7 separate regions of the Homo sapiens genome follow, and regions 1, 2, 3, 4, 6 and 7 are each linked to region 5. The links are contacts of gene promoters, found by promoter capture Hi-C in blood cells and fetal thymus (Javierre and others, 2016). All regions are on one chromosome and are shown on one strand. The core of a region is centred on a gene start or on the middle of the fragment in contact, and the rest is flanking DNA. Distances in the headings are between cores, read along the strand shown. Region 1 overlaps CLEC16A (C-type lectin domain containing 16A). Region 2 overlaps TXNDC11 (thioredoxin domain containing 11). Region 3 overlaps DEXI (Dexi homolog). Region 4 overlaps CLEC16A (C-type lectin domain containing 16A). Region 5 holds the start of RMI2 (RecQ mediated genome instability 2). Region 6 overlaps ZC3H7A (zinc finger CCCH-type containing 7A). Region 7 overlaps ZC3H7A (zinc finger CCCH-type containing 7A).

Region 1 (3,829 bases), core at 87-2,586, 330 kb before region 5:
GAACCCGGGAGGCGGAGCTTGTGGTGAGCCGAGATCACGCCACTGCACTCCAGCCTGGGCGATAGAGTGAGACTCCGTCTCAAAAAAAAAAAAAAAAAAAAAAAAAAAGAAAGATTTATGAAAACATGTAAGATAATTACTTACCCGATTTTTGGTGAATTAATGAATGAACAGCAGTCATGGTGGTGGTGGGTTAAATCAAGGAATAAATGTTTGCAAAGTGAAAAATCATAAGGAGCACCTCCTTCCTGCACGAGGTTCAAAACCAATCACAAATCTGGTAGGCTTGTTGAATGCTTTCATACCACATCATTTATTGTCATGCATTTGTATTATCGTCTACTTTATGAATTGTTATTTGACAATCATTTGTATTCATTTATTTTCCAACTCGCATATTTCCAGTTTAGGATCTTGTATGACCAGTGCCTGGGTACTTCAGGACGCCAGGTGGGAGCCAACTCTGGACAGGGCACCATCCTGTCACAGGACAAACTCACACGCCCCCACACTCACTCAGACTGCGCCTGTGTGGACATGCCAGGGAACTTAACATGTACATCTCTGGGATGAGGGAGGAAACCAGAATATGTGGCAAAAACCCATGCAGACATGGCGAGAACATGCAGACTCCACATAGACGGTGGCCGGGACTGGGAATCAGTTTTTTTCTTTTTATCCTCATCCATGTTATAATGCAACAATGTTGAATGAAATGATGTTATTCAAAGATCTGCTGTATTGTGTTTATAAGCTACTTGGATTAATCTGAGCATCCTTCCTTTCCCCATTCAGAGTGGATTTGGTATTCATTTAAAATAAATTTGGATTCAGGCTAGGCATGGTGGCTCACACCTGTAATCCCACCACTTTGGGAGGCTGAGATGGGCGGATCATTTGAAATCAGGAGTTTGAGACCAGCCTGGCCAACATGGTGAAACCCCATCTCTGCTAAAAATACAAAAATGAGGCCAGGTGTGCTGGCTCACACCTGTAATCCCAGAACTTTGGGAGGCCAAGGCAGGCAGATCATTTGAGGTCAGGAGTTCGAGACCAACCTGACCAACATGGTGGAGCCCTGAAAATACAAAAAAATTAGCCAGGCATGGTGATGTGTACCTATAGTCCCAGCTATTCGGGGAGGCTGAGGCTGGAGAATCCCGTTAGACTGGGAGGCAGAGGTTGCAGTGAGCCAAGATCACGCCACCGCACTCCAGCCTAGGCGATGGAGTGAGACTCTGTCTCAAAAATAAATAAATAAATAAAAATACAAAAATGAGCCGGGCATGGTGGCGTACACCTGTAATCCTAGCTACTCGGGAGGCTGAGGCAGGAGAATTGCTTGAACTTGGGAGGCAGAAGTTGTAGTGAGCTGAGATCATGCCACTGCACTCCAGCCTGGGCAACAGAGTGAGACTCTGTCTCAAAAAAAAGAAGAAGAAGAAGAAGAAGAAATTTGGATTCTTTTTTAAAATTTCCAGTTTAGGCTTCTTCTTTCTCATTCTCATTGATTTAATTTTCATTTTAAAAATGCATGGAATATTAGCAAACTGAAGTATCCTTCCTCCCTTCCACTTAATTCCTGTCATCTCTTATAGATAACCAACTTGATTGTGTACTGAAGAAGTCTCCTTCCTGTGTTTCTTTCTGTAAAAATAAGCAGATTTGTGTATGTTTTCTTCTTTTCCTTTCTTACATACAGGGTAGCATATGTGTTCCTTCCACTTAGCAATGTCTCCGGAAATTACTCCATATCATTTCTCAGATCTTCTTCATTCCTTTTCACAGCTGTGCTGTGTGTATGTACCATAGTTGATTCCATCGGTCTGTTATGCCTGGGCATTTAGGTAGTTTCCAGTATTTTGCAATTACAAAGAATACTACAGTAAATATCCTTGTGCATGTGCAGTTGCATACTTCCAGAGGTGTGTCTTGCGGAGAAAGACCTACAAGTGGGCTGCTAGGTTGTAGAGTATAACGGTGATTTAAACTTTCCTTTTAAGCTGTATTTAAGTGAAAAAAAAGTAATAGTTCAAATAAAATGAAAAATAGTACAGGTAACACAGAGACGTGACAGAAATCATAAAAGCAAGCAAATTAAACTATTGCTTCAGTCCCTTCAAACTCCAAATAGTATCATAACTGAGGTTCAGTCAGAGCCCCCTGGAAATCCAGCCTCAGTGCCTCAGTCCCGGCCTTGGGGACCATAGGTGGAACTCTGTATCCACATAGCCTACTGAGCTGCTTTCCTTGGTGGCAGCAGTGTGGCGCCCGCACCTTGGGAGGGAGGCTGGCCAGTGACAACAGGGACAATTGGAGTTGGGGCCCGGAGTGGCACAGAACCGTGCCAACTTCAGGTGTAGCACTATGAGGAGGTTCCCTGTGACCCTGATCATCAGGGGAGGTCAAGTCCTCTTTGATGTCCTCTTCTAAAGATGATACTCACTTTAGAGCAGTGAGAATCTGGGGAGCCCTTTCCCCCAAAAACCTGCTACCAACTGGTCCCATGCCCACATAGCACTTTGCATAGAGCTTCAGGGAATTGGCAGACCTATAAGGGTTGTTTCAGTACCTATAAGGGTTGTTTGGATAAAACTATCAAAAAGAAGAGCAAGAAACCTTTCCTTGACATTTGAAGATCTGATCCGCATTCATCTAGAAAATTAAGTGGAGCCACTCACTCTACAGCTGTGCTAGCTGGATGAGGACTGTGAGGTGCAGCTGTGCGCACAGGTGTCACAGCCAGGGTGTGGAAATCCCATTTTGTGTGGAGAGGCCCATGTGGGTCTGGTTCTGCGTCAAGATGTGACACGGGGGTTGGGGGTGAGGAAGGGGGAGCGGTCCTGGCTTTGCTGCTGCATTTCCAGCTGTGTTAAGAATCACTGCACTTGTGGGTTTCTGTGCACTCATACTCAATATCCAGGGTTGGACCAGACGGTGGTTTTCAAGCAGTTTTGTGTGAAGCCGTAGAATTCCAGAAAGGGGCCTCATGGAGTGCACGAGGGAGCCCACGGCAGTCAGAGGCATTTGATGCCCACCACCCTTTCCTGGAGCAGCTCTGCGCTCATCTGCTGACTGTGGTGGGATGCCCTGGAAAATTGTCCTGCAAATTAGTATTCAGCTGCTTAAAAAAAAAGTTGGATGAGCTTGGTGCTGAATTGTCTTCACCCTCTTCTCTGCTCCGGAATTCTGCTGGTGTCCAACGAGATTAAGCCAGAAAGGGGACAACTACGTCACAAAGCTTGGCCTCCAGGCCAGGGTGCTGGGGCTTGGCCCTGTAACCTTAGGAAGTACTTGGAGCTGAGTTCCCACTGTGTCAACCAAGCAGGGCAGAGCTGAGCCTGGGGAAGGAGAACTTGCAGCTGTAGGGGAGGTGGGCCTATGCCACGTCCTCTGCCTCATGGGGCAGAGGCCAGAGGCTGGGAGACGAGGAGGAGGCTAGCCTCACAGGCTTGCTTGGGAGTCTTCAGATGTCTGATGGCAAGCCTTGTTAGTAAACACAAGCAAACCTATACATATGACATTTAAGCATACATCTCCCAAATATGTGTAAAAATTTATGTATTATAAATTATATATAATATGATCATGCTAGTATTATGGACAGTATAAAACAAAATAGATTTTAAAAGATGAGAAGCGTTAAAAGACCTACTGCCTAGGGAATCATCTTGCATGCCCACTGAGGTCCATACCCACTTTGGAGATGGCCAAGGTAGTTGGAGGACACTAGGTGCCTGAAGGAGGCTGGTGAAGGTGAAAATGGCAGAAGGGAAAGAGAATTATGTTTCCCCGACAGCAGTCTGCACCACGTTCGAACTCTTTTTTT
Region 2 (4,191 bases), core at 537-3,036, 340 kb after region 5:
TCAGGGCTAAACATCAACATCATGGAAGGAACACTCAGAATTCATGAGGAAAAGTTCAGTTTCAAAGAGGCTTTGCTCATGGCTTCAACCTGACAATTAAATTCAGCCAAGTCCTACCAAAGGTTAATGGAAAATGGGCAGACCCTCACACACCATATGGCTAAGCTGCAAATAAGAGTGAAAATGGGCATACAGCCCAAAGCGCTGCAGAAGAGGCCTGCTTACCTTGCCACAGTGAATGTGTCCATGGGCAGGTTCCGAGCTAGCTGGATGAAGATGTGATTGAGGGATGGACAGAAGCCGCACCACGGAGCGTAATAGAGCAGGAGAACGTCCTGTGGGAAAGGGAAGACAGATGTTACTTGCACCGGGAAATGGGCTCTTCTTCATTTCTTTCCTCATTGCTTAGAATCCAGCAAGCACCCGAAAAATGCTACCTATGCAAATATTACAGTGAAAATTTTCATCTTTAGGTCTTTCCAATACTGTGCTTTCTGGAGCACTTTTCTGAAATTTAAAAACCACATGTAATTCATTCACGGTCCATAATTGGGCCATCACGTGGTTACTCTTCTATACATCAAAAACAGCTGCTCACCCCAACAACTGTAGTTTGGAAATTATTTTAAGAGGGACAGATGGCTTAACTTTTGCCTCTCATGACTCCATACCTGTTTTTGAAGGACTACTTCCCAAAAGGTATCAGTTGTCACTTCAGTGATTAAATGCTGAGACGGGAACTGGGCAGAGCCACTTCCAATGAGATGCCTTTTCAAGGGACTATAGAGAACGCTGAAGTTTTGAATAAAAGACTCTAAAAATAAAGAGAAAATGAGATCAACTCTCCTCTAGATACAAAGAGAATAGCTGGCCTACTTTTAAACTCCACATTTTAAAAACTCAAATGACTTCATAGGCTCACATTTTTAACATTTCACCTATCAGCAAAACCCCAAACAAAGCTGCCCGGGTGGCATCAGGTTTAGCTCTGGTAGTATTAACTCAGCAGACAGTAATGTGGATAACAAAACACTATGCAATGTTAGATGCTCTAATATTCATAGACTATTCTTTTTTTAAAAGGACTGGTCCACAAATAGACACCAAGTGAGACTGTATAAATCATCAACAAGCCACCATCTTTTCAAGAAATTTCACCCTATAATACTAAGACCTTTAAGCTTAACCACAAATGTGACAACTGCACAAGCTACAGTAGTGTGGAATGTGTTTAAATGCTCATTAATTTGAGGACAAGGAGCTACAGTTTTTTGTTTCCTTTATTAAGGTTCTTTAAGTTTCTTTTTTTAAAGGTTAAGAAAAAATTATATGTAGTGGAAAAATACATAAAACCCATAATAATCAAAAACCTGATTTGAACCAACAGTTTTACCACAAATTCTGCCATCTTCAGAGTCCTTTGCTTCATCTGAAACAATACTAATTTGAATTTCACTTTTTTTTTTTTTTTTAAAGAGACAGGGTCTCACTCTGTTGCCCAGGCTGGAGTACAGTGCTGCAATCATAGCTCACTGTAGCCTTAAACTCCTGGGCTCAAGCGATCCTCCTACCTCAGCCTCCAGAGTAGCTGGGACTACAGGCGTCCACCATTGCACTCAGCTAAAGTTTCAGTTCTTTTTCTTTCTTCTAACTCCCTCCATTTTGAGGTGCAATGGGCAATGCAGCGTGCAGAATGGAAGAGGAAGTGAAGAATGTCATGTGAATACTAAAGAGAATTCATGATCAGCATCTGAGAAACACTTAGTTGGCTATGTTTTTGAAACATGAAACCAAGAATTATTTCCTAATCTGAATAAAGCCTAAATTCTGAAACTAGCCTAGAGACAGCTGATTTATGAGTTAAGTCTCTAAACCAACAATGACACACAGTAGGTGTTTTTTACAAGCTCCCTAAGAATTCTGTCACTAACTGCAGGACAAAGAACAGCTAGGCTAAACATTTCAGAGAAGATACAGAAGATGGAAAGAAATCTAAAGAAGGCTTCTTTCAATTACCCTTAAATTCAAAGTGAACACATTATGAGGTCATTAAACACTTGAGCATTACTGAATGGAATTCAGGAAAATCTAATACAGACTACCTCAAAAATACATGCTTGTAGGAACACTGACCCCATTTCTCTGGAGTCTCTTTCCCATTTAAAAAAAAAATGCTTGTTTCATTTTAAGAAAGCTCAACACATCAAAATGACTTTAGATAACATGAATTGGGAGTAATCTATAATATCGACAGATTTATGCCCTTCAAAAAGTGACTGGTCACAGGGTTCTTTTACACAGTGAGGAACTCTTGGATTTATAATATGTAACTTGATATAGAAAAATCAATATTTACATAAAGCCTTTTCACAAATGTGTCTAATGTAAGAAACAAGCTTCACCTAGATTTGAAAGAGGATGGCTAAAAAGACTCATATGTAGAAGCTCTGAGTCTACTGTTGAGTTCATACTTTAAAACTTGAAATGAAAGGTTTCCTTCCCTACCAAATTCCTCCTTTCTCCATTCGGCATACACTGACCCTCCCTCCCGTTTCCAATGAGGCTGAACTAACGTGGCTTTTGAATTCTCACTTCATTGTGTGTAGTCAAGGGCATCAGCAAATTCCTGGGAACAGGCCAGGGTGGGTCAGCCCAATGTTGCTGCCAAGTCCCAGGGGCAAGCTCTGGGTGCTTTCTCATCATGGAGCCTTACTCCTCAAAAAGTGGGTTTTGCTGGTTTGCGACTGACACTTATTTATTTGCACTTTACACTTGTTACAGTGTAGGTACCCCAGGTCCCAGCAATATTACTCAGTACATTATGAAACAGCAGCAGAACAAATTAGGTCTGGTGGCCTTGATCCTTAGACATTTAAGCCTATGAGACAAAAAGGGAGGCAAGGCGGCTCTACTTCCTTCTTCACTGCTCTCTTTTTTTGGAGACGGAGTCTTGCTCTGTCGCCCAGGCTGGAGTGCAGGGGCGCGATCTCTGCTCACTGCAAGCTCTGCCTCCCAGGTTCACGACATTCTCCTGCCTCAGCCTCCCGAGTAGCTGGGACTACAGGCGCCCGCCAACGCGCCCGGCTAATTTTTTTTTTTTTTGTATTTTTAGTAGAGACGGGGTTTCACCACATTAGCCAGGATAGTCTCGATCTCCTGACCTCGTGATCCACCCGCCTCGGCCTCCCAAAGTGCTGGGATTACAGGCGTGAGCCACTGCGCCCGGCCACTGCTTTCTCTTTAAGCTCCTTTAGAACAAAGCTGCTGTCAAGGCTCACTTTCATCAGCCCCTAGGACATCCCACCAGAATAGCTCTCCACCTCCCTGCCTGTTCTAGTCCCCAAGTCCCCACTGCCTGCAGCTGGTTCTACCTTAGACATGTGACAGAAATCGCCAATTTAGAAAGTGGGACTCTTACCCCCACCATGGGCTAAATGACAAACTTATCCAAAATTCAGAGTGAGGAAGTTTCTGTTCCATTTAATAGACAAAATTAGCTTCTTTGAAAATTATGACTGATGGTGGTCTAAAGACTTAAAATGAGCTACGAAGGTGACATCACCCCACAACTAAATGTAATGAGAGCCATCAATAAAATTTACCCATATGAAGTCAAGCAAAATGTACAATGCTTGGGGAAATAAACTGCCTGCAGTACCTAGGGTGAGCTTCATCAGTGCTTGCTTTGGATCCAAGATGTAATGAGATTCTTCTTTCACGTCAACAATTGCCGCAAATTCTTTCACCTGAGTGGAGCTCGGAGCACCCAGTCTCTCTGCATATAACCAAAACAAATTTGAATCCAAAAGGTAGATGTTGAGAGTCTTGTTGGTTCTGCAGCTCAGGCCTGTGAAGTTTGTGCTAGTCATGTCCACTTCTGGAAAGAGATACCTGTTCTCCTCAATGTGAGGAACGGAGCTTGGGGCATCAACCTCACATTTCTTCTCAAGGGAAGAAAATGCAACAGTAGGGGCTTCAAAGACACCTTGTTCAGAGTCGATGAAGCCTGACACACCCCTGCTTATGGTCCTGCAACATGCAGTGTAGTAGCTGAAGGGGCTATAGGAAGTTAAAAAATTGCTGCATTCTATGCTGTCTGATGCCACATGATAAAAGGTCTGCTCCTTGAGGTAGAAAGAATCCAGAGCTGCTGCCATTTCAAAAAAGCTGCACTGTGGCACGCTGACCGAG
Region 3 (4,129 bases), core at 1,100-3,599, 400 kb before region 5:
GTTTGAGGAACTGAATTATGTGGGTCCACACATAAGAGAAAAAAAAAAAAAAGAGGGAGCAAAAGTAGGTGCACCTGTTCATCTTGAGATTCATCCTGGGCCCCACTGTGTGACATGCTCCACGCCCTTAGTCACTGTTTCCTGGATTGGCGTGTGGGGAACACATGTGACCACATGAGAATGGCTGAGAAAGAGCAGGACTGACTACCGGCGTTCCCCTGCTTATGGAAAGGGGCCTGGAGATGAGGCTCGGTCAGATCATCTTGAGGTCTTTCCTGGCGGCTTCCCTGCTGCTAGCTACCCCTCTCATACCCTGGGGTTCTGAGCTTCCTCGGCACTTGGGGGCAAGGCCTCCTTGGCTTGGATTTGAGGGTGGGGAGGAGGGAAGGCTGTGCATGGCTTCCACCACTTCTCCAGGCCTCCCCACTTCCCAGGGTCAGGCCCTGACACCCCGAGAGCTTTGCAAGGGTGTCCCTGAGAGATATTTCCTGGTGTTTCTGCTTAAACAGCGTTTGCTGCAAAATATGTCGAAGCATTTGGGATTCAGTTTTTAGTTCAGAATATGCCAATGTTTTCATTTGGAAGGGGAAGTGTTTCTGTTGATGTGGTAAAGAGATAAAATAAGACGTTCCTCACCAAGTTACACTGCTTCAAAGTCAAATGCTTGGCTTGGAGACAGGGATTTATCTTGGGATCGCAGGCCCTTAGCACACGGCCTGGCAGAAGAGCAGGCAGGGTCAAAGTCTGTTGAATGAGTGAGTGCATATGCAAAGGGCCTAGACACAGGAGTGCGATACAATCAATGCTCAGTACAGATTTTGAATGGATTCCATAGGTTCTACTTTTGAGAGTTGTTCTCAGTCTGTTCATGTTTCTCTATCTTCACTAAACTCCCCTCATCCAAGCCTCTGTCACCTCTGGCCTGGACAACTAACAGCATCTGAGGTGGTGGCCCTGCTTCCCCTCTTACCCCTCAGCTCATTCTGTCCACAATTGCCAGAGTCATTTTTGCAAAATGGGAATGGGATTGTGTCATCTCCTGCCTAGAACCTTCCAATGGCTTTCCACTGCTCTTGGCTATGGCCTTCCAGGTCCTCCATGGTATGGCTCCCACCCACCTCACTGACCTTTCCTGGGGCTGTTCTCCAGCCACATGGGCCTCCTTTTGGTTGCGGAAAAACCAACTCTCTCTCACCTGAAGGTCTTGGCACCACTGATTCCCTCAGCCTGGACTGCTTTTCTCCAGATCCTTCTATCAAATTAAGGCTCAGCTCAAAAGCATCATCTCCTTAGAGAGGCTTTCTCTGACCCCTCAGCTAAAGCAGCCCACCATCTCTATCCTACCGTTTCACTTCTGTTTCACTCCATGTCTACACCTACAGAGACCGTCTACTAGAGGCCAGGCACAGTTTTAAGTGTTGAGGACATGGCAGTGAACACAACAGGGAAGCTCATGTCCTTCTTGCCTGCCTTCATAGTTCCGAAAAAATCTGATTCTCTTGTTTGGGTTCCTACTAGTCTTCCTCACCAAGTGCCAAAGGGCCAAGGCTTGGTCTGTCTTGTTCACTGTGTTCAATCACCAGGCACTGTACTGAACCAACAAGCATTCATTCTGTAAAAGAACGGACGGATGGATGGCAGGCAGGCAGGCAGGCTGGGGAGGTGTGCAGAGCACCTGGCACACACTCCCCCTGGCACTTGGTTCTCGCTAAGATGTTACTGAGCTCAACTGAAGCTTTTTCTTCAAAGAAATCTCACTGTGAACCCATTAGGAGAGCCCTCTGCCGCCAGCTATGCTGTCAGTAGGTCCTACCCCACCCTGTACCACCATCTGCAACAGACTCAATGTTTGTGTCTCCTCAAACTTCATATGTTGAAACTCTGATCCCAAATGATGGTATTGCGGGGTGCGGCCTTAGGGAGGTGATTAGGTCACGAAGGCAGAGCCTTCATGGGTGGGATTAATGCCCTTATAAGAACAGTAAGAGATAAATGTTTAAGTCCCCCAGCCTATGGTGTTCTGTTATAGCAGACTGAACTAAGACACCCTCTGCCTGTGGTTGTCTTGGCAAAGCCAGGTAATGCAGGAGAGGGGTGGACTCAGCCTGCTTGCGGTGAATGGCATTAGTGTCCATTTTCCTAAAGGAGCCCTTGCCCACCATATCTCAGCATCCCCTCTTCATTGCCACTTAGACCCTGTGCCCAGTGACACTCCAGTACTGTCCAGTCTCAGGGGCTGAGCCAAGGCGTTCCTGCCTGCCCTGTGACCCTCACCAGACCTGGCAGCTGCCTGACAGCTTGTCTGGCTCACGTGTTCTCTCTAATTGAGTCTAGCTGCCTCTCTTCCTTGTGACTATGACCAAGTCTTACTCCTTCCTGGACCTTCATTTCCCTACCTCTCACATACACAGTGGGCTGGATGCTGGATGCAAAGCTCCCTCGTCACAGCCCCAAAGACAGGACTTGACCATCTCAGTGCAATGACCCTGTGGTGCCTTCTCCCGAGGACCTAAGAGCCCCCTGAGCGCTTGCAAACACTGCAGACAAAGCGAGCCCTGGCACCAGCTCCCTGCCTGCCTGTTCTGTGAAGGGAGCCTACAAAACTGGCAGCCCCTGCAGTTCTGAGCTGCAGAACTGATGAGCTGGGGCACCCTGAAACCTGACTCCAAAATAGCAGCAAACCCAAGGCCAAAAGGAAGTACGGGCTTCTTTGCTTGCGATTTCTCCTCTCACAGCTTTGGCCTAGAGCCCCTGCACTTAATCCCCACCCAGCTACCCCAAGGGCCACAGTACAAAGGTGATTCGTGCCTGGCTCCCTGTGTCTTCTGACACCCCTAAATCTTTATCCTTCTAGGACAAGCGAGAATCCCCCAAAAGCCAAGGTCATCATCAAGCCAGGATGAGGACTGGAGGAGGAGCTGACAGCTCTGCCTCAAATGGATTTGGGAGCGAAGGCTTTTTCCATAAGCTTTGGGGGTAAGTCACAGAGCTACCCCAAATGTAACTTAGTCTCGGGGTCTCCTTCCTTTTCACCAGCTGTCCCCTTTGCTGGAGGAAGCTTTCCAGCCCAAACGAAGGGCTTAAGAGGAGTCTGGCCATTCCTGGCATCCAGTTAGACCTGGAGGAGGTGAACGGAGGAGAAGCCTGAGGGAGGGGTGTGTATCCGGCCTGGGAATTCCTCCCTCTCCCTTGCTAGCGCCCCAACCCGCCCTCATCCTGTTCAGAGAGGGCACTTACAGGCCTCGGAGGCAGGGGAGGGTCTCCTCCTGGGGAACCATCCCCGTCCAGATGGTGCCCCCAACCAGCTGCGGCGGCATGATCTGGGCGGCTGGTCCAGGGCATGGGTTGCGGATCGTGTAGGGAAGAGGGGAACAGCAGTCGAGACCCTACTCCAAGTACGCATCAAAGACGTCGAGCTCCGAGTCAGCATCGTAAAGGCCCGAGCCGGGGTCGGAGAGCACGCCGAGGTCCACGAGCGCCTGGTCCATGTCCTCGGGCAGGAAGACGAGGCCCACGTTGAGGACGATGTACTCCATGAGGAAGGCGTAGTACAGGATCAGCACATTGACGAAGAACAGGCCCACGTAGAACATAGAGGGCAGCAGCGGCGGCGGCACGTAGGGGACCAGGGGGCCCAGTGCGTCCAGGTGGGCCGCGACCCGGGCGCCGAGCATGCAGCGGGTGGCAAGGGCGGCGGCCCGGCGATCCCGGCGAACTCAGCCGCTGCGGCGCCCGGGCGGCCGGCGAGGGCACAGCGCAGCCATCCAGGGGTACCCTGGAGCCCGACAGAAGCAGGGCCGGGCTCCAGATGTCCCCTGGCAATTGCGCCCCGACCCCCGAAATGCGCCGGGCGGGTCACCGCACCCCGAGATGTGCCCCCAAGGATCTCTCGACCGCCCGGGCGGCGAGGCGGGCCCCCCTGAAGTGGCCCGCGGCTGCCCGGCTCCCTCGTGGCGCCTCCCTGGCGCTCGCAGGGCCTCGCAGAGCCGGTGGGGATCCCACCGCGGCTCAGTGTCTAGGGCCGGTCCCGGCAGCCTTCTCTCCCGCCCCGCCCCGCAGGTCCTCGCGCACCCCCCGCGCCCCCGCAGGCCCAGCACCCATGGCTGCGGCCGCCGCGTAGCCCTCCCGG
Region 4 (3,845 bases), core at 28-2,527, 310 kb before region 5:
ATTATATGAACATACCACAGTTTATTCATTCATCTGTTAATGGAAATTTGGGTTGTTTCCAGTTTTGGACTATTACAAACAAAGCTGCTGTGAGCATTTGTGTGGCCCCATACAATGTATGCCCATACAGAGAGTTGTATGAGCATATACATTCTTTTCTCTTGGATAAATACCTAGGAATGGAATGGCTGAATCATATTTCCCATATAATTATGGGAGATATGTGTATGTTTGCTTTTATTTTAAGATACTGCCAAACTGTTTTCCAAGATGCCTATATAATTTTATATCCCATCACCAGTGTACAAGAGTTCTAGTTCCTTTACCTCCTTTCCAACATTTGGTGTGGCCACCTTTTTAGTTTTCACCATTCTAATAGGTTTGCAGTGGTATCTTATGATCTTAATTTGCATATCCCTAATGACATTGAACATCTTTTCATGTGTTTCTTTTGCCATACATGTCTTTGTTAGTGAAGAGTCTTTTCGAATCCTTAGCCCGTTTTTTAAATTGAATTGAGTAAAAAAAATATTGTGTTTCGAGACTTTTGGGTTTTTTTGTTTTGTTTCTTTTAAGACGGAGTCTCACTCTGTTGCCCAGGCCAGAATGCAATGGTGCAATCTTGGCTCGCTGCAACCTCCGCCTCCCAGGTTCAAGCAATTCTCCTGCCTCAGCCTCCAGAGTAGCTGGGACTACAGGTGTGCGCCACCACGCCCGGCTGATTTTTGTATTTTTAGTAGTGACAGGGTTTCGCCCTGTTGGCCAGGCTGGTCTCGAACTCCTGACCTCAAGTGATACACCCGCCTCAGCCTCGAGAGTTCTTTATGTATTTTGAATGCAAGTCCTTTATCAGAGGCATTTAGCAATGATTTCCCCCAAGTCTGTGGCATGTCTTTTCATTTTCATAACAACATCTTGGGAAGACCAGATGTTTTTTAATCTCCATGAGGTTCCTGTGGCACTTTTTAATACCGCCTTTTCTCTGTATTTTTTCTCTCCCATTCTGGACTGCTAGGCCTTGGAAGGCAGAAACCATGTGCTCCCTGCAGTACCCAGCCTACCGCCTGGCACTCAGTCAGTGCTCAGCCAGAGTTTGCTGATTGGTTGCTGCTCAGCTATGTGGCACGTCCCCAAGGCCATCTCTTCCTGGCAGCTTGTAGCTCAGGGCTTCAGCAAAGAAGGTGCTGTCTGTGTGGTGTAGATGCCAGGCTCCATGGGACAGTGGGCAAGCTCCTCATCTTGGTGACTGGTGTTCTCCATGGGCTTCCTTCCTGCAGCCCTGACCTGTACGGGGAGCAGAGACGTCATGGCTTACTGGGTGTGCTGCCATGCACCTTCATCCATCTTATGCGCTGGAGAGACCACTCACCTGTGTTCCCGCCTGGGCATCCTACCTCTTTTTCTTGGGAATTTCTTCTTGGAAGAGTAGAACTGTATATTCAAGGAAATTGAATTCCTTCTCCCATTTTCTGCTAATGCTATGCATGTATTGATTCATTCATTCTTCCAACAAATATTTTGGAAGCCCCTGTTAGATGCCAGGCACTGGGATCAGTATTGGGGATGCAGTGGTGAAGCAAACAAATGCTTTCATGGAATCTGGATTCTCTTAGAGGAGACAGACAGTAAACTAGTAACCAAGTAAAATAATCCCATGTAGCGAGAAGTGCAACAGTGAAAATAAAACTAGGTAATGCGGTGGGGCAGGCTGAGGGTAGAGGGTACTACATCCGCCTGAGCAATCAGGAGAGGCCTCTTGGAGGCTTAAGTGATCAGGAGGAATAGCTTGCAGTTTCTGATGAATTTCCTCATGTAATTAGTTATTCAGCAAATGCATGTGGAGCACCGGCCGTGTGCCAGGCAGTGTGCTCAACATGGGGACTACAAACTCCAGGCAGACCAACCCAGGCCCTTGCCCAAGAAAGCATCAGTCATTCTTGGACAGAAAAGTCCTACGAGGAGGCTGTCAGCACAATAGAGGGTCACTTGCCTGGTGGTGAGCATGGACTCTGCCCGCAGGAGTGAGGACCCGTTTCCTGAGGACACCCGGGCTATGGTAGAGGACAGAGCAAGAAGGGGCATGAGAGCCTGTGGCATATCCATCAGATCACTGCCCGTTCCCTAGGGTGAGTGGCAGCATGTCCGAGGCAGCGGGTGCCCCAAGAGGCAGGCATCTGGAGCCAGTCTGCAGGGGGTGGCACAGGCAGCGACTGAACTGTGTTCCTATGAGCCGTGTGGGGCTGCTGGGGGGCAGTTGGTCAGTTAGTGAGCTGACCCACTCTGCACCTCTCAGAATGGGTTTGCAGTAATTCAGCCAGCGGGTGGGAGGGATGAGAGGTGAAACTGAGAGGCTTTCTTATCATTCAGCAGATACTTGCTGAGCGCTTGCCAGGGCAAGGCCCCGTCATAGGCACTCAAACAAGCCCAGATGAGTCTCACTGAAGTGAACAAGAAGATTAATTGTGACTGTGACAAATGGTAGAAGGAAATGAACAGGGTGGAGTGATGAGGAAGCCTAGTGGTTGTGCTGCAGGGGTTACTAGGTGCTAGTCAGGGTGGTCGGGGAGGGCTCCTCTGAGGAAGGACCAGCAGAGCCACAGCCCAGAGAGTGAGAAGGAGCCAGCTCTGCAAAGACCTGGGGCAAGAGTCCTCCAGGTGAAGGGAGCAGCATGTACAGAGGCCCCGGGGTGGGAAGGAGCAGAAAGTGGGCCAAGGTGAGGCTGGCCAGGCGGGCAGGGGCCAGGTCATGAAGGGCCTTGAAGGCCCTGAAGAGGAATTGCCATTTTTTCTCCAAGTGCAATGGGAAACCCCTACCGAATTTTTAAGTAGGACAGTGATGTGGTCAGATGGAAGTTTTTAAAAGAAACGTTGGCTACCAGACAGAAAGTAGATGACTGGGGGTGGGGATGAGTTGCAGGAGGGAACACCGAGAGACTTGCTAAGAAGCTGTTGCAGTCATCCAGGCGAGATAATGTGGATTGGATTAGGCTGCTGGCTGGGGAGTAGAGGAAACTGGAAGGACTTGTGATTATTTCAGCGCTAGAGCCAGGACGTGCTGATGGATTGAATGTAGGGGTCGAGTGAAAGGGACGAGTCAGATGACTCCTGTGATTTGGCTTGAGCAATGGTGGGGGTGCATTTACTAGGATGAGGAGACAAGGAGAGTCACTAGGCTAGGGGTGAGGGGTTCTGGTTGATTTGAAAGGAGGGGGCATGAAGGGAGGAGCCTGGGTAAGGCTCAGGTTCCTGACTCCTTTCCCTGTGTGACCAATAGTGCCATTTCCAGAACTAACAAGCATGGGCCTTGGAGTAGGTTTGGAGAAGAAACGGAAAAGTTCAAGTCCGGTGCCCTGAGGCCCAGGTGCCTGGGGAAGCTGCCTCGTGGGGGAGCTGCCACCTGGTTTATGCTCAGTCCTGGCCTGTGAGCACAGAGTCTGCATTTGGTGGGGCTTTGCTGGTGGAGGTTGGTTGAGTGATTGGTTTTTGGTTATGCAGCAGCTGATCAGGCTGCACTTGACCTTCAGCCTCACTTTTCCAGATCCTTACCCCCCAAATCAGGTCCCAAGTGACCTGGTCTCTTTCTCATAGATTTTTTCCTCATAGTCAATTTTAACATAAAAGCCACGTTCATAAAAACCAAATGTGAGCTCAGGCCTTCCAGTAATCATAATAGATTAGATGCTGCACCGAAATGAATATCCCACAGTGGAAAGGGTTGACCGGTTGGCGGAAGGCGCTTGTTGTGATTCAGTTGGGCCACATAATGAATTCTGGTTTGTTTCTGTAATAGAAAATGCAGCCTTCGCTCTTCTATCAAGTCCGCTGAGTCCTGGGCCAGAGGTGGA
Region 5 (3,971 bases), core at 919-3,418:
CATGAGATTTGGGTGGGGACACAGCCAAACCATATTAGGTGTAGAGGCCAAAACCTCATAGAGGCTACTGAGAGTCTATGGGCCAGCCCTCTAGCTTCCTTAAGCCTCAGTTTCCTCACCTGTGTGGAACAGTCTTTTCAGGGTCTGTGGGGGTACATGGGATACTTCCTACAAAGTTCTTACAATAGGACCTGGCTCAATTTTATAAAAATGAAGCTCTTGGCCGGGTGCGGTGGCTGACGCCTGTAATCCCAGCACTTTGGGAGGCTGAGCGGGCAGATCACGAGGTCAGGAGTTTGAGACTAGCCTGGCCAGTATGACGAAACCCCGTCTCTACTAAAAAATACAAAAATTAGCCAGGCGGGTGGCGTGTACCTGTAGTCCCAGCTACTCAGGAGGCTGAGGCAGGAGAATCACTTGAACCTGGGAGGCGGAGGTTGCAGTGAGCTGAGATGGCACAACTGCACTCCTGCCTGGGTGACACAGCGAGACTCCGTCTCAAAAAAAAAAAAAAAAAAAAATCAAGCTCTTGCTGAATACTCTCTGAATGCCTGGTACTGCAGGAGGCCCTGGGAACTCAAAGTTTCTCTTAAGAACTGACCTTGACTTTAAGGATTGCCTGATTTAGGATCTGTGGACTTTGCTGACTGGGGACATCCAATTTTTAGGGAGAGATTCCTGGGAATTTTATTTGAAGGATGCACAAAAAGATTTAGCTTTTACGGGTGGATCACGAGGTCAGGAGATCGAGACCATCCTGGCTAACACGGTGAAACCTCGTCTCTACTAAAACAAAGTACAAAAAATTAGCTGGGCGTGGTGGCAGGCACCTGTAGTCTCAGCTACTCGGGAGGCTGAGGCAGGAGAATGGCGGGAACCTGGGAGGCGGAGCTTGTAGTGAGCCCAGATGGCGCCACTGCACTCCAGCCTGGGTGACAGAGTGAGACTCCGTCTCAAAAAAATAAATAAATAAATAAATAAAAAAGATTTATCTTTTAAGTAGGTCCACAGTGGATATATTTATAAAGTGAAAAATTGGAAATAGCCTTAATGTCCAACTGTAGGATATTGGTTTAATATGTGATAAGACAAATCGAGTATTATGCAGTCATTCAAGAGGAAGCAGATGGATATTTGCTGATACAGAAAGATGTTCATTATTAAGTGAAAACAATATACAAAACACTATTTGTATATCAGTAATAGGCCAGGCATGGTGGCTCACGCCTGTAATCCCAGCACTTTGGGAGGCCAAGGAGGCAGGATTGCGTGATCCCAGGAGTTCCAGACCACCTTGGGCAACATGGTAAGACCCTGTCTCTACAAAAAATACAAAAATTAGCTGGACGTGGTGGTGCACGCCTGTAGTCCGAGATACTTGGGAGGCTGAGGTAGGAGAATCACCTATGCCCGGGAGGTGAACGTTGTAGTGAGCCGTCACTGTGCCACTGCACTCCATCCTGGGCAACAGAGTGAGACCCTGTCTCAAAAAAAATACACACACATATTTTAAAGCCTAAAGGCTAATATACCCCAAAATTAACAGTGGGTATCTATAAGCGGCTTTTACAATTATTTTCTTGTTCTACATTTTTCCCCTATTTTTTTTACAATAAATGTGCATTTCTTGTCTGAAAAATAGCAATATATTTTATTAACCTTAAAATTATTTGATGCTATTAAAATATAACTGAAAATAATAATAAAAGAAAAGGCAAGTTTGCCAGCTCTCCCCGTCTCCCTCCCCAGCCTTATCTCCTGACTGGATTCTTGCTCACTCCCAATAAACACGGACTCTTAATTCGTTTCAGTATTTACTAACCTCAAAACAAGGCAATGTAAAGATGAATAATCATACTCTGTAGGTGATCTGCATCCACGCCAAATTTTGAGATGCGTTGAAAGAGGAAGTTCTTTACCTCTCTGCCTTCAATTATTTATTCTCGTTTAACCCATTTCCTCCGTTCATTCCTAACTTGAGGGCGTTTATTTACTTTTATCTACGCATGCGCACTCCTGGCTGCTAGAGAGGGCCTCTTCGCCCGGCGGTCCCGCCTTCTGACGTCGACCATTGGCCGGCTCTGCCAGCGCGCTCCTGATTGGTGGCTGAGGGCCGGGCCCCGCTGCTTCTCAAAGTTGGCGGGAAAGCGGAGGCGGGGCGGAAGGGTGCGGCGAGGCGGAATGGCGGCGGCTGCGGACTCGTTCTCAGGCGGCCCCGCGGGGGTGCGGCTTCCGAGGTCGCCGCCACTCAAGGTGCTGGCGGAGCAGCTGCGGCGCGACGCGGAGGGCGGCCCGGGCGCGTGGCGGCTGTCACGGGCGGCGGCGGGCCGCGGGCCGCTGGACCTGGCGGCCGTGTGGATGCAGGGCAGGGTAGTGATGGCGGACCGCGGCGAGGCTCGGCTGAGGGACCCGAGCGGGGACTTCTCGGTCCGCGGCCTGGAGCGGGTGCCGCGCGGGCGGCCCTGTCTAGTCCCAGGTAATGCCCGGGCCTTACCGGGCGCCCTCTTCCCTGCTGCCCGCCGAGAAGTTGCCGAGGCCAGATTCGATCTTGTTGTTGACACTCGAACGGGGGCGGGGCGGGTCTGGCCCTCCTCCGGGCCTCTGCCCCTGCGGGTCCCCGCTTGGGTACCCTTGCTCCGGTCCCTCCTTGGTGAAGTTGATCTGATGATAAGCATCACCTGCCGTCCCTTTTACAAATACAGATTCCTGGGACTCTCCCACCCCTAGTGGGAATCTTCTGGGGAGGGACTCCGGCACCTTCGTTTGTCACAAGCCCCCTCTCCCAGTTGATATCCTTGTTTTGGGAAATACTGTCCTGGGAAACTTCTGCTCATCCTTAACGTCTCAGCTCAAATGTGCCTTTCTCAGGGAAGTCCTCCCTAGCCCCTAGGAACGGGAGACCCTCCTGTACTTCTCCTTAATTGAACTGTCTTGGGCTGTAGCTCACTCATGTTTGCCTCCTCTCTTTTTTTTTTTTTTTTTTTTTTGAGACGGAGTCTCACTCTGTCGCCCAGGATGGGGTGCAGTGGCGCGACCTCAGCTTACTGCAGCCTCCACCTCCCGAATTCAAGCGATTCTCATGCTTCAGCCTCCCGAGTAGCTGGGATTACAGGCATGTGCCACCACACCCGGCTAATTTTTGTATTTTTTAGCAGAGACTGGGTTTTGCCATGTTGGCCAGGCTGGTCTCGAACTCCTGGCCTCAAGTGATCTGCTCATCTCGGCCTCCCAAAGTGCTGGGATTACAGACATGAGCCGCTGCGCCCTGCCTGCTTCCTCTCTTAAACCACTGATGCTCAAACTTGAGCCAGCATCAGTCTCTCCTGGAGGGCTTGGTAAAGCTGGGATGGCTGGGGCTCCACCCTCAGGGTTTGTGAGTCAGGAGGTCCAGGTGGGGCTGGAAATTTGCATTTCTAACCAGCTCCCAGGTGATGCTGATGCTGCTGGTCTGGGGACCATACTTTCGACTTTTTAAATGTTTTATTTATTTGAGATAGGGGACTCACCGTGTTGCCCAGGCTGGCCCTGAGCTCAAGCAATCCTCCTGCGTCAGCCTCCTTGGGTAGCTGGGACTACAGGCCTGTACCACCACGCCTGGTTTGGGGGCCATACTTTGAGAACCACTGGGCCAGCCCAAGCTACTGGAGGGCCAGAGCTGTGTGGTCCTGACAACTGTATCCTCAGCATCTGGCCCAGTTCCTGACACATAAGTGCTCCAAGAACCAATAGTCTTGAGTGATAGGCAATGGGCATCCATCTCACTTGTTCCCTGGGATGTCAGTTGAGCACGTGTTGTACATCAGCCCCTCATGTGCAGTGTTGGGCTGCAGCCGAGACCTAGATAGAGTCTGCTGGGAGACAGGCAGTGAGCAAGTGTCGCAGAGGATCGCTGATCTTTGGGGAGCCATGAGGATGTGCAAGGTGCTGAGTGGCCCGGGGAGGCTTCTAGAGGATGTGAGGTCTAAGCTGAG
Region 6 (4,031 bases), core at 1,128-3,627, 430 kb after region 5:
TGCTATGGTTACCCAGGCTAGTTTCATATAATCTCCATATGTCACAAAATATTATTCTCTTTTTTGTTCTTCTCTCAACCATTTAAGAATTGTAAAAAATATTCTTAGTTTGCAAGCCATACAAAAACAGGTAATAGGCCAGATTTAGCCTGTGGGCTACAGTTGGCTGAACCCCGCTTTAAAGTATGTGGTTGCTAGAGGATTATCTTTAAGAATAAGAAGTCCTGAGGCCGGGCATGGTAGCTCACGCTTGTAATCCCAGCACTTTGGGAGGCCGAGGCGGGTGGATCACGAGGTCAGGAGATCAAGACCATTCTGGCTAAGGCAGTGAAACCCCATCTTTACTAAAAATACAAAAAAATTAGCCAGGCGTGGTGGCGGGCGCCTGTAGTCCCAGCTACTCAGGAAGCTGAGGCAGGAGAATGGTGTGAACCCGGGAGGCGGAGCTTACAGTGAGCCAAGACTGCGCCACTGCACTCCAGCCTGGGCAACAGAGCAAGACTCCGTCTCAAAAAAAAATAAATAAATAAAAAGAATAAGAAGTCTTTAATCTATATAATTCATTTTTTCTTAAATATCAAACGCCTATTTTTTATCAGAATGTTATCTTTGCCCTTTCCATAATATGAGATCCCAATATGAATTGGAAAAAAATTGGCTAATTACTAGATAGCATTCTTTTTTTATTTCAAAATGATCAAATTAACCAGTTTCAGTAGAGAAGAAAAAAAGTAACTTTCAAGGTTAAAAAAACCCCCAAATTCAGCCTATATGCAATACTGAAAAAGTCTATCAAGTTATATTACAATTTTTAAAAAGTTAACTCTGTCTTCAGAAGAAACTTGAGTAACACTGAAACTTACCATAACAGTTTCATTAGTTTCAGGTGCAGAATCAAGCAGGTCATCTAGTTCATCTCCAAGGACCATATCTCCATCATCTAGAAAAGCTTCTGGCATAGTGAAGGGCATCTTTCCTCCATTTGCCAGCACTGCAGATGGCAGAGCGCTCTCTTCCACTTGTAGTGGCAAAATAGAAGTTAAGGGCATAACAGGAACTGAGGCCAGCTCACTTCCAACTTCATGAGAAAAACTGGGTGCCGGTAAAGAGACAACAGGAACTGCTTCTTGCCTTGGAGTTAATAAATCTGTAACACAGATGGAAATGTACTCAGTCACTTTCATCGTACTTACATAATAATACCATTAATCCCCAATAATAGAGATACAAAGATGAAAATATGAAGGCAATTATAAAAATAATAAAATTGACAGTATAGTAAAGCAATTCCAAACAGATACAGTCACGTGTGAAAACTTATCCTTCTTTCACAAAATGCCTGTATCTCTCTTTGGGCACAGCTATCAGACAGTGGCAAGGCCACAGTGGGTGTCAGTGATTGCTTACTAACATCCAACACTTTTCAGTCACTCACTGGCACATCCAAAGGCACAAAGGGAGCATTGGAAATCATTTTCACTTTCATATTAATACATTAATATGAATATAACCACACAGCGATATTATTTGACAATACATCACATACAAAGACATCAGGTACAAAGCTGGCACTATTCAAATTGTTAAGATGATATGTGAAAACATACCTGGCTCAATATCTTCCACAGAATGGTTCAAAGCCTAGAAATTAAACCAAACAATGGGTTATAATATTTTCAGGACTCTAAGCCATAAAACAATCAGTAAAACTCACCCTAGGCCGGGCACAGTGGCTCACGCCTGTAATCCCAGCACCTGGGGAGGCCGAGACAGGCAGATCACGAGGTCAGGAGTTTGAGACCAGCCTGGCCAACATGGTGAAACCCTGTCTCTACTAAAAATACAAAAATTAGCCAGGCATGGTGGCAGGCATCTGTAATCCCAGCTACTCAGGAGGCTGAGGCAAGAGAACTGCTTGAACCCGGGAGGTGGAGGCTGCAGTGAGCTGAGATAGCGCCACTGCACTCCAGCCTAGGTGACAGAGCGAGACTCTGTCTTGGAAAAAAAAAAAAAAGAAAAAAAGAAAAAACTCACCCTAAGAGAACAATGCAGGTTTCCACAGAAATTCAACTCCCAATTAAGATCCAAGAAATGAATGGAACACGCAAACCTGTATACATGTGGTGTTAGGTGAGGTGCTGGTCTAGCAGTGCTGCCACTTATTTCTCGTGGACCAGCATTTCTCAAAGGCTATTCAGCAGAATAACAGGGATGAATTTGGCCACCAATCATTGCCCAACTCACAATAGCCATTAGCATCCTATTAGCCCCAAGAAAATTTTAATTTTAAAATTAAAAACAAAAACAAAAAAAAACCCTTTGTTAATTTTATCACAAATGACTCCCAAAACTAGTATTTGGCCCTGAACCACTCTTATTGCACTGAAACCTAACATCTATTAACATCCTATAAAATGCCCCACTGGAGCATTCAGGAAATGCTGGTTACAGCTAAAATATATTACTTGAGTTGTAGATGTTCTTTTGTAAAGTGACTAGAAGAGGCCAGAAGAGATGGCTCACGCCTGTGATCCCAGCATTTGGTGGGAGGCCAAGGCAGGAGGAACACTTGAGCTCAGGAGTTTGAGGCCAGCCTGGGCAACATGGTGAAACCCCATCGCTACAAAAAATACAAAAATTTAACAGGCCATGGTGGTGTGTGCCTGTGGTCCCAGCTACTCGGGAGGCTGAGGTGGGAGGATCACTTGAGCCCAGGAGGTGGAGGTTGCAGTGAGCCAAGATCAGGACACTGCACTCCAGCCTGGGCAACAGAACAAGACTCTGTCTCAAAAAAATAAATAAAGTGACAGGAGGGTATTGCCAATTACGTGTTTGAGGAATTAAAAAGGTTCCAAAAATAAACACACACCAAAAATACTAAAAGTAGAATTGCTCCCATCCTTCCCTTTAAAAAAAAATATAATTTTGACAGAAAAAATAACTTTACCTTGGTAGCCCCATCCCCAGGAACTGATTTTAATGAGAGCTGAAATAAAATAAAGACACTAATTTAAAAACAGAACTGACTCCAAGTTCTAAAACAAAATGAAAACACCTTATGCAGAGAACTCCAGCTTACCTCAGCTCTGACATACGCTTTTCTTATTTTAAATCCCAATTTCTGAGCTAGTTCTTGAGTTAGTTTTATTACATGCTCATCCTGAAAAAAATAAGTATGTATAATTAACAGGGTTATATTTACTAATGGTGAAGAAGAATAGACAAAACAGGGAAGTTTCCCATCAAGACACCTGCTTCATTAGCATTTATACCCAACTGAAGCAGGTTGATGGATGACTGGAAAATTTAACTCTTTAAATGCCATTTATTATGATGTAAATGGTTACGATGTAAACAAATAAACTATAAATTCCATACCTGAGGCACTGCTAAGGAGCACTTTGCTACAGCATCGTAAGCCTTTTTGTATCTTCCTAAATCACTTAAAGCCTTAGATTTCCGATACAGAGCTTTGCAGTTACTGGCATTTAAACTGAGGACTATATTGCAGTCCTCCAAAACTTTATCATGGAAACCCTGGTGTGTAAGACCAAAGAATAAAGTCAGCAATCAAACAATTCATTTCTTGCACTGAGGCCTTCCTGTAATAAAAACAAATTAATACCCCATCCTATTACCCTCCCTCTAAACTCCAAGTTAGCAGTATTACTTTTATTTTTTAAATTATTTTATGAAATTTCAAATACAAAAAAGTAGAAAGAATATCATGAATACCCATGTACACACCATCCAGGTCAGACAAATGCTAATATTTGGTCAGAAAGTCCCCAGATCTTCAAGAAATAAAGCTTTCCAGACCTAACTGATGTCCCCATGTGTCCCTCTCCTATTCGCTCCTCTGTAGTTACCCTTTGCTGGAGCACATTAAGATGTCAAACAGAAACGTAACTCCAAACAGCTAACTGATAAGGAATATATTACCCAAAACAAAATAAATAAACAATGAATGCTCTTTAACAAAGAGCTAGGTGACAACACGGATATTTTTCTTAAATTCATGGTTATATTTT
Region 7 (3,775 bases), core at 755-3,254, 450 kb after region 5:
CCAAGGAGAGATACTTTGAACAGTTCATTTTAAAGCAAGAAACTCAATTAAATAAGAATTTCATTAAATTAACTGAACTCTTACAAACTGGAATATCATCTCTCTGGGATCAGCTGATTTAAAATTTGTTACTAATCTTGAAGTTATGTAAGATCTCAAGGTATCCTGGATCTTCAGAACTCCCTTACTATTTACTCAGTGCCTGGTAGGTTAAACTCATTATCCCAAAGTCTAGTACAATGTTGGTAACTAGACAAATAAATCCACATCCATGAGCTTTTGACCTTACATGGTAACTTTAGAAACTAGCTCACATTAACAGAAGACATCAAGGTAAGGGAAATGTGACTGCAACATACTGAGACAGAAATAGTAGCTCTTACTGGACTCCAGGCACTGTTCTACATGCTTTATACGTATTAAGTCATTTAATCCTCCTGCTAACCTTAAGTGACAGGTACTATAAAGAAACTGAAATACAGATAAGTGACGCAGCTGGCCCAGGATTACACCTAGGAAGTAGCAGAGCTCAATTTCAAAGGCAGACAGCCTGGCTCCAAGCCTGAGAGCCTATCCACCTGGCTCTTCTGCACATTACGTGCCAAAGACGCCTGGAGGGGAGTGAGCATCTGTCTAGGGTGGCCCTGGGCTGGGCTCTGAAAGACAAATATGGCTCTGATGAACAGGTGGGCACTTTAAAGCCATTCAGGAGAAATGAAAGAAACACACGCATGCGTGTGCACTTGTGTACACAAAAAGATATGCTCAACAGACGTCATTTAATGCAACTCAGACAAAGCAGAGGGCTTTCACAGGAATGCAGTAGGCCAGGAGTCTGGACATCACTCCAGGGAAAATCTTTCAAGGGGATCTGCTCCACCCAGAACATAATGTATTTAAATACAAATAATATTAAAACAGCCTTACTTACAAGATGTACTAACACAGGACCAAAGTCTCCCAGTGAAGGCAGTGCAGAGGTCACCTAGCACAGCATTTGTACTTTTGCCTAAAAAGGTATCCCTACATTTCAAGTGAAAAATTACAGGCTGGGTGCAGTGGCTCATGCCTGTAATCCCAACATTTTAGGAGGCTGAGGTGGGAGGATCGCTTCAGGCCAGGAGTTTGAGACCAGCCTAGGCAACATAGGAGACCCCATCTCTATAAAAATGTTTAAAAAATTAAATGGGCATGGTGGTGTACACTGTAGTGCCAGCTACTCGGGAGACTGAGGCAGAAGGATTGCTTGAGGCCAGGAGTTTGAGGTCACAGCAAACTATGACTATGCCACTATACTCCAACCTGGGTGTCAGAGCAAGATCCTGTCTCAAAAAAAAGGGGGTGGGGGGGAGGAAAAATGATACATTCCACTCCATATTCAATTCTATCCCCAGACTGAAGCCTGTGTAATATTAATAGCTTTAAAACAACAACTACAAAGTAGTTAAAGTATCATTATTGTCATCCTTAATTGGCAACAGTATATTAACTGGCTCTTGCAACACTTACAAAAGCACCTGGGGCACAAGGCAAGCCTCAGAAGGCTGCAAACCCAGATGATAAGACATTAAAGTTGTTGAAGCTCCTATTGGATACTTTATGAAACAGTTTCTCCCTTTTACTGAAAAGGAAAATTTCATGAGAGACAGTATGCCAAACAACAGCAGGAAGGTAATGTTACATTTTGGCTGGAGTTCTTCCCCCCACAGGAACTATTCACTTTGAAATTGCTGTCAGATTTCAGATTCAGTAAGATACAAAGTCTGTGAAGAGCCTGAAGAGCCTCCCTCTGCGAAGAGGCTCCGCCTGCCAAGAGCCTCCCTCGGCACCCACGCCCTGCTAAGTGGTGGTTCCCAGGAACATCTCATCTTATCTATGACCTCTGTATGGAAGAACTCAACAGGAATATTTCATGTAAAAGCTTCATGACAAATGATTTGCCTGGGGACACTGATACCACCACGATGTACCCAAGACCGCCAGCCGATGAAGTCTTCCCAACCAAGTAACCCCAACACACTCTCACCTTCTTACCAAATGTGCCAGATTAATGTCCTGCTCCAAATTCAGGCCTTTTCAGAAAACATAAAGCTTCCCGCTTTCTATTTGTGAAAAAGTAACCTCGTTGCTTTACATAAACGAAAATCACCTCATTTAATATGCCTTTTGTGTACATGTAAATTAAAACGTTATCACTAGCAGTAATTTTTAAACTTCTGGATTAATACTTTAATACTTCTCTCCTCCTTAAAAATTATCTAAAATTTCTTCTTGATTTGCCAACACCTCACACTTTAAGTAATTTTCATAAGGATTCTGGAGAAAAATATTTTCACTAGAAAAAAAACAAAACAAAACAGAACACTTCCAGACGTTATCCAGAAGACAAAAGTTTGCTCACATCATACTGTCTCTAGAAAGCCCTTTCTAGGGTATCTGTGGCAACAGGATACAGACGTCTTTTGTTTCTTTCTTCCTTTACTGAAATGCTCAAAACTTTCCAACAGTCACTCTCACCATCCCTGGAGTTGAGAGTTTCTATAATTGATTCTCTTCCACTTACAATGACAATTTAACCCACCCCAACTGGCAGGTTTTAAAATCAGTCAAAACTAAGAATTGTGGAACAATGTGGCTGACAAGCCACCATTCTTATTTGCAAAAACTGACAGAATCTGGGGAATGGGAAGGAAAGAGGGTGTAGGTCTGTGTAAAACCCCCAACGAAAAGTCACAGTAACATGAAGAAAGGCAGGAATTCTCCACTTCGTTTGGATGGCAGAAAATCAACGGGCTCTTTGTAGAATAAACACACACACACAAACACACACGCACAAATATTGATAATATTGAGCCTCAACAACTCATGATCTCATCCTGAGACAAACCTCATACAACTATTTGTAGCCTCCAGCATACAGCAGATAGGGAAAATTTTTCAACAGGGAAAATACTGTCCATTAACTTGAATTATTCTGCAAATTAGGACAAGACCCATTGTGCAATTCAGTTCAACAGTTTGGCTCAGTATGAGAAGGAAGAGGCAGTGGATTCTTTGAGAGCTTAAGGGAAGGAGGCCACATGCCATCAGAGAAGCAGGAAAGATAAGCAGATAGACATGTCTTCTCAGGGCCACCACCCATTCAGATGCCCCAGCTGCGCGCTGTCCAGTCGAAATATTGTACAAAATATATTACACAAAATAAGCCATACGTGTCATTGTATGTATGTATGTATGTACGCATGTATGTGGAGAGGGAGTCTCGCTCTGTTGCCCAGGGAGGAGTGCAGTGGCACAATCTCGGCTCACTGCAACCTCTGCCTCCCGGTTCAAACGATTCTCCTGCCTCAGCCTCCCCAGTAGCTGGGATTACAGGCGCCTGCCACCACGCCTGGCTGATTTTTGTATTTTTACTAGAGACGGGGTTTCTCCATGTTGGCCAGGCTGGTCTCGGAATTCCTGACCTCAGGTGATCCACACACCTCGGCCTCCCAAAGTGCTGGGATTACAGACGTTGAGCCACCCCGCCCGGCCCGTATATGTCATTTTAAATTTCCAAATAGCCACACTAAAAAAAGAGAAAAAGAAAAGCAGTGAGATTAACTTTTGTTTTTTTATTTGTTTGTTTTGAGACAGTGTCCCAGGCTGGAGCACAAAGGCACAATCTCAGCTCACCGAAGCCTCAATCTCCTGGGCTCAAGGGATTCTCCCACCCCAGCCTTCCGAGTAGCAGATTCTCCCACCTCAGCTTCCCGAGTAGCTGACTACCGGCGTG

The links. Contacts are between HindIII fragments. The CHiCAGO score rates a contact against its expected background, and 5 or more counts as called.
Region 1: a contact is called between a fragment that was not itself captured here and the fragment with the promoter of RMI2 in region 5, in 3 of 17 cell types (activated CD4 T cells, total CD4 T cells and non-activated CD4 T cells). The highest score is 6.9, in activated CD4 T cells.
Region 2: a fragment that was not itself captured here is called in contact with the fragment with the promoter of RMI2 in region 5 in 5 of 17 cell types (naive CD8 T cells, activated CD4 T cells, naive CD4 T cells and 2 more); the score reaches 7.8 in naive CD8 T cells.
Region 3: a contact is called between a fragment that was not itself captured here and the fragment with the promoter of RMI2 in region 5, in 7 of 17 cell types (activated CD4 T cells, monocytes, naive CD8 T cells and 4 more). The highest score is 7.6, in activated CD4 T cells.
Region 4: a contact is called between a fragment that was not itself captured here and the fragment with the promoter of RMI2 in region 5, in 9 of 17 cell types (activated CD4 T cells, naive CD8 T cells, naive CD4 T cells and 6 more). The highest score is 11.7, in activated CD4 T cells.
Region 6: a fragment that was not itself captured here is called in contact with the fragment with the promoter of RMI2 in region 5 in 1 of 17 cell types (activated CD4 T cells); the score reaches 5.2 in activated CD4 T cells.
Region 7: a contact is called between a fragment that was not itself captured here and the fragment with the promoter of RMI2 in region 5, in 4 of 17 cell types (activated CD4 T cells, naive CD8 T cells, total CD8 T cells and 1 more). The highest score is 7.7, in activated CD4 T cells.

What each region holds. Positions count from the first base shown.
Region 1 is chr16:11,012,514-11,016,342 of GRCh38, forward strand. All of the region lies in intron 11 of CLEC16A (C-type lectin domain containing 16A), which reads left to right. Among named protein-coding and RNA genes, the nearest start is that of CLEC16A, 70 kb to the left of the region's middle. The HindIII fragment of the contact is 3,806 bases long and covers 1-3,239 here.
Region 2 is chr16:11,687,632-11,691,822 of GRCh38, forward strand. TXNDC11 (thioredoxin domain containing 11) reads right to left here. Exons shown (of 12, transcript NM_015914.7): 8 at 3,659-4,191; 9 at 672-814; 10 at 226-335. Among named protein-coding and RNA genes, the nearest start is that of SNN, 21 kb to the left of the region's middle. The HindIII fragment of the contact is 1,215 bases long and covers 1,180-2,394 here.
Region 3 is chr16:10,938,332-10,942,460 of GRCh38, forward strand. DEXI (Dexi homolog) reads right to left here. Exons shown (of 2, transcript NM_014015.4): 1 at 3,238-4,129. The coding sequence starts at 3,674. The coding sequence ends at 3,387. It also overlaps a transcript of CIITA not described here. Among named protein-coding and RNA genes, the nearest start is that of DEXI, 2.1 kb to the right of the region's middle. RefSeq lists a silencer at 3,727-4,129. The HindIII fragment of the contact is 1,233 bases long and covers 1,734-2,966 here.
Region 4 is chr16:11,030,090-11,033,934 of GRCh38, forward strand. All of the region lies in intron 13 of CLEC16A (C-type lectin domain containing 16A), which reads left to right. Among named protein-coding and RNA genes, the nearest start is that of CLEC16A, 87 kb to the left of the region's middle. The HindIII fragment of the contact is 5,549 bases long and covers 1-3,845 here.
Region 5 is chr16:11,343,291-11,347,261 of GRCh38, forward strand. It overlaps RMI2 (RecQ mediated genome instability 2), which reads left to right and starts at 2,169. Exons shown (of 2, transcript NM_152308.3): 1 at 2,169-2,476. The coding sequence starts at 2,182. All of the region lies in intron 1 of LOC105371082 (a long non-coding RNA gene), which reads left to right. It overlaps LOC105371083 (a long non-coding RNA gene), which reads right to left and starts at 1,922. Exons shown (of 2, transcript NR_135174.1): 1 at 1,823-1,922. RefSeq lists silencers at 2,238-2,397, 2,418-2,497. The HindIII fragment of the contact is 15,776 bases long and covers 1-3,971 here.
Region 6 is chr16:11,773,373-11,777,403 of GRCh38, forward strand. ZC3H7A (zinc finger CCCH-type containing 7A) reads right to left here. Exons shown (of 23, transcript NM_014153.4): 5 at 3,379-3,537; 6 at 3,080-3,160; 7 at 2,948-2,986; 8 at 1,608-1,641; 9 at 864-1,147. Among named protein-coding and RNA genes, the nearest start is that of ZC3H7A, 22 kb to the right of the region's middle. The HindIII fragment of the contact is 2,860 bases long and covers 948-3,807 here.
Region 7 is chr16:11,792,204-11,795,978 of GRCh38, forward strand. The region is part of intron 1 of ZC3H7A (zinc finger CCCH-type containing 7A); the gene reads right to left. Among named protein-coding and RNA genes, the nearest start is that of ZC3H7A, 3.2 kb to the right of the region's middle. The HindIII fragment of the contact is 170 bases long and covers 1,920-2,089 here.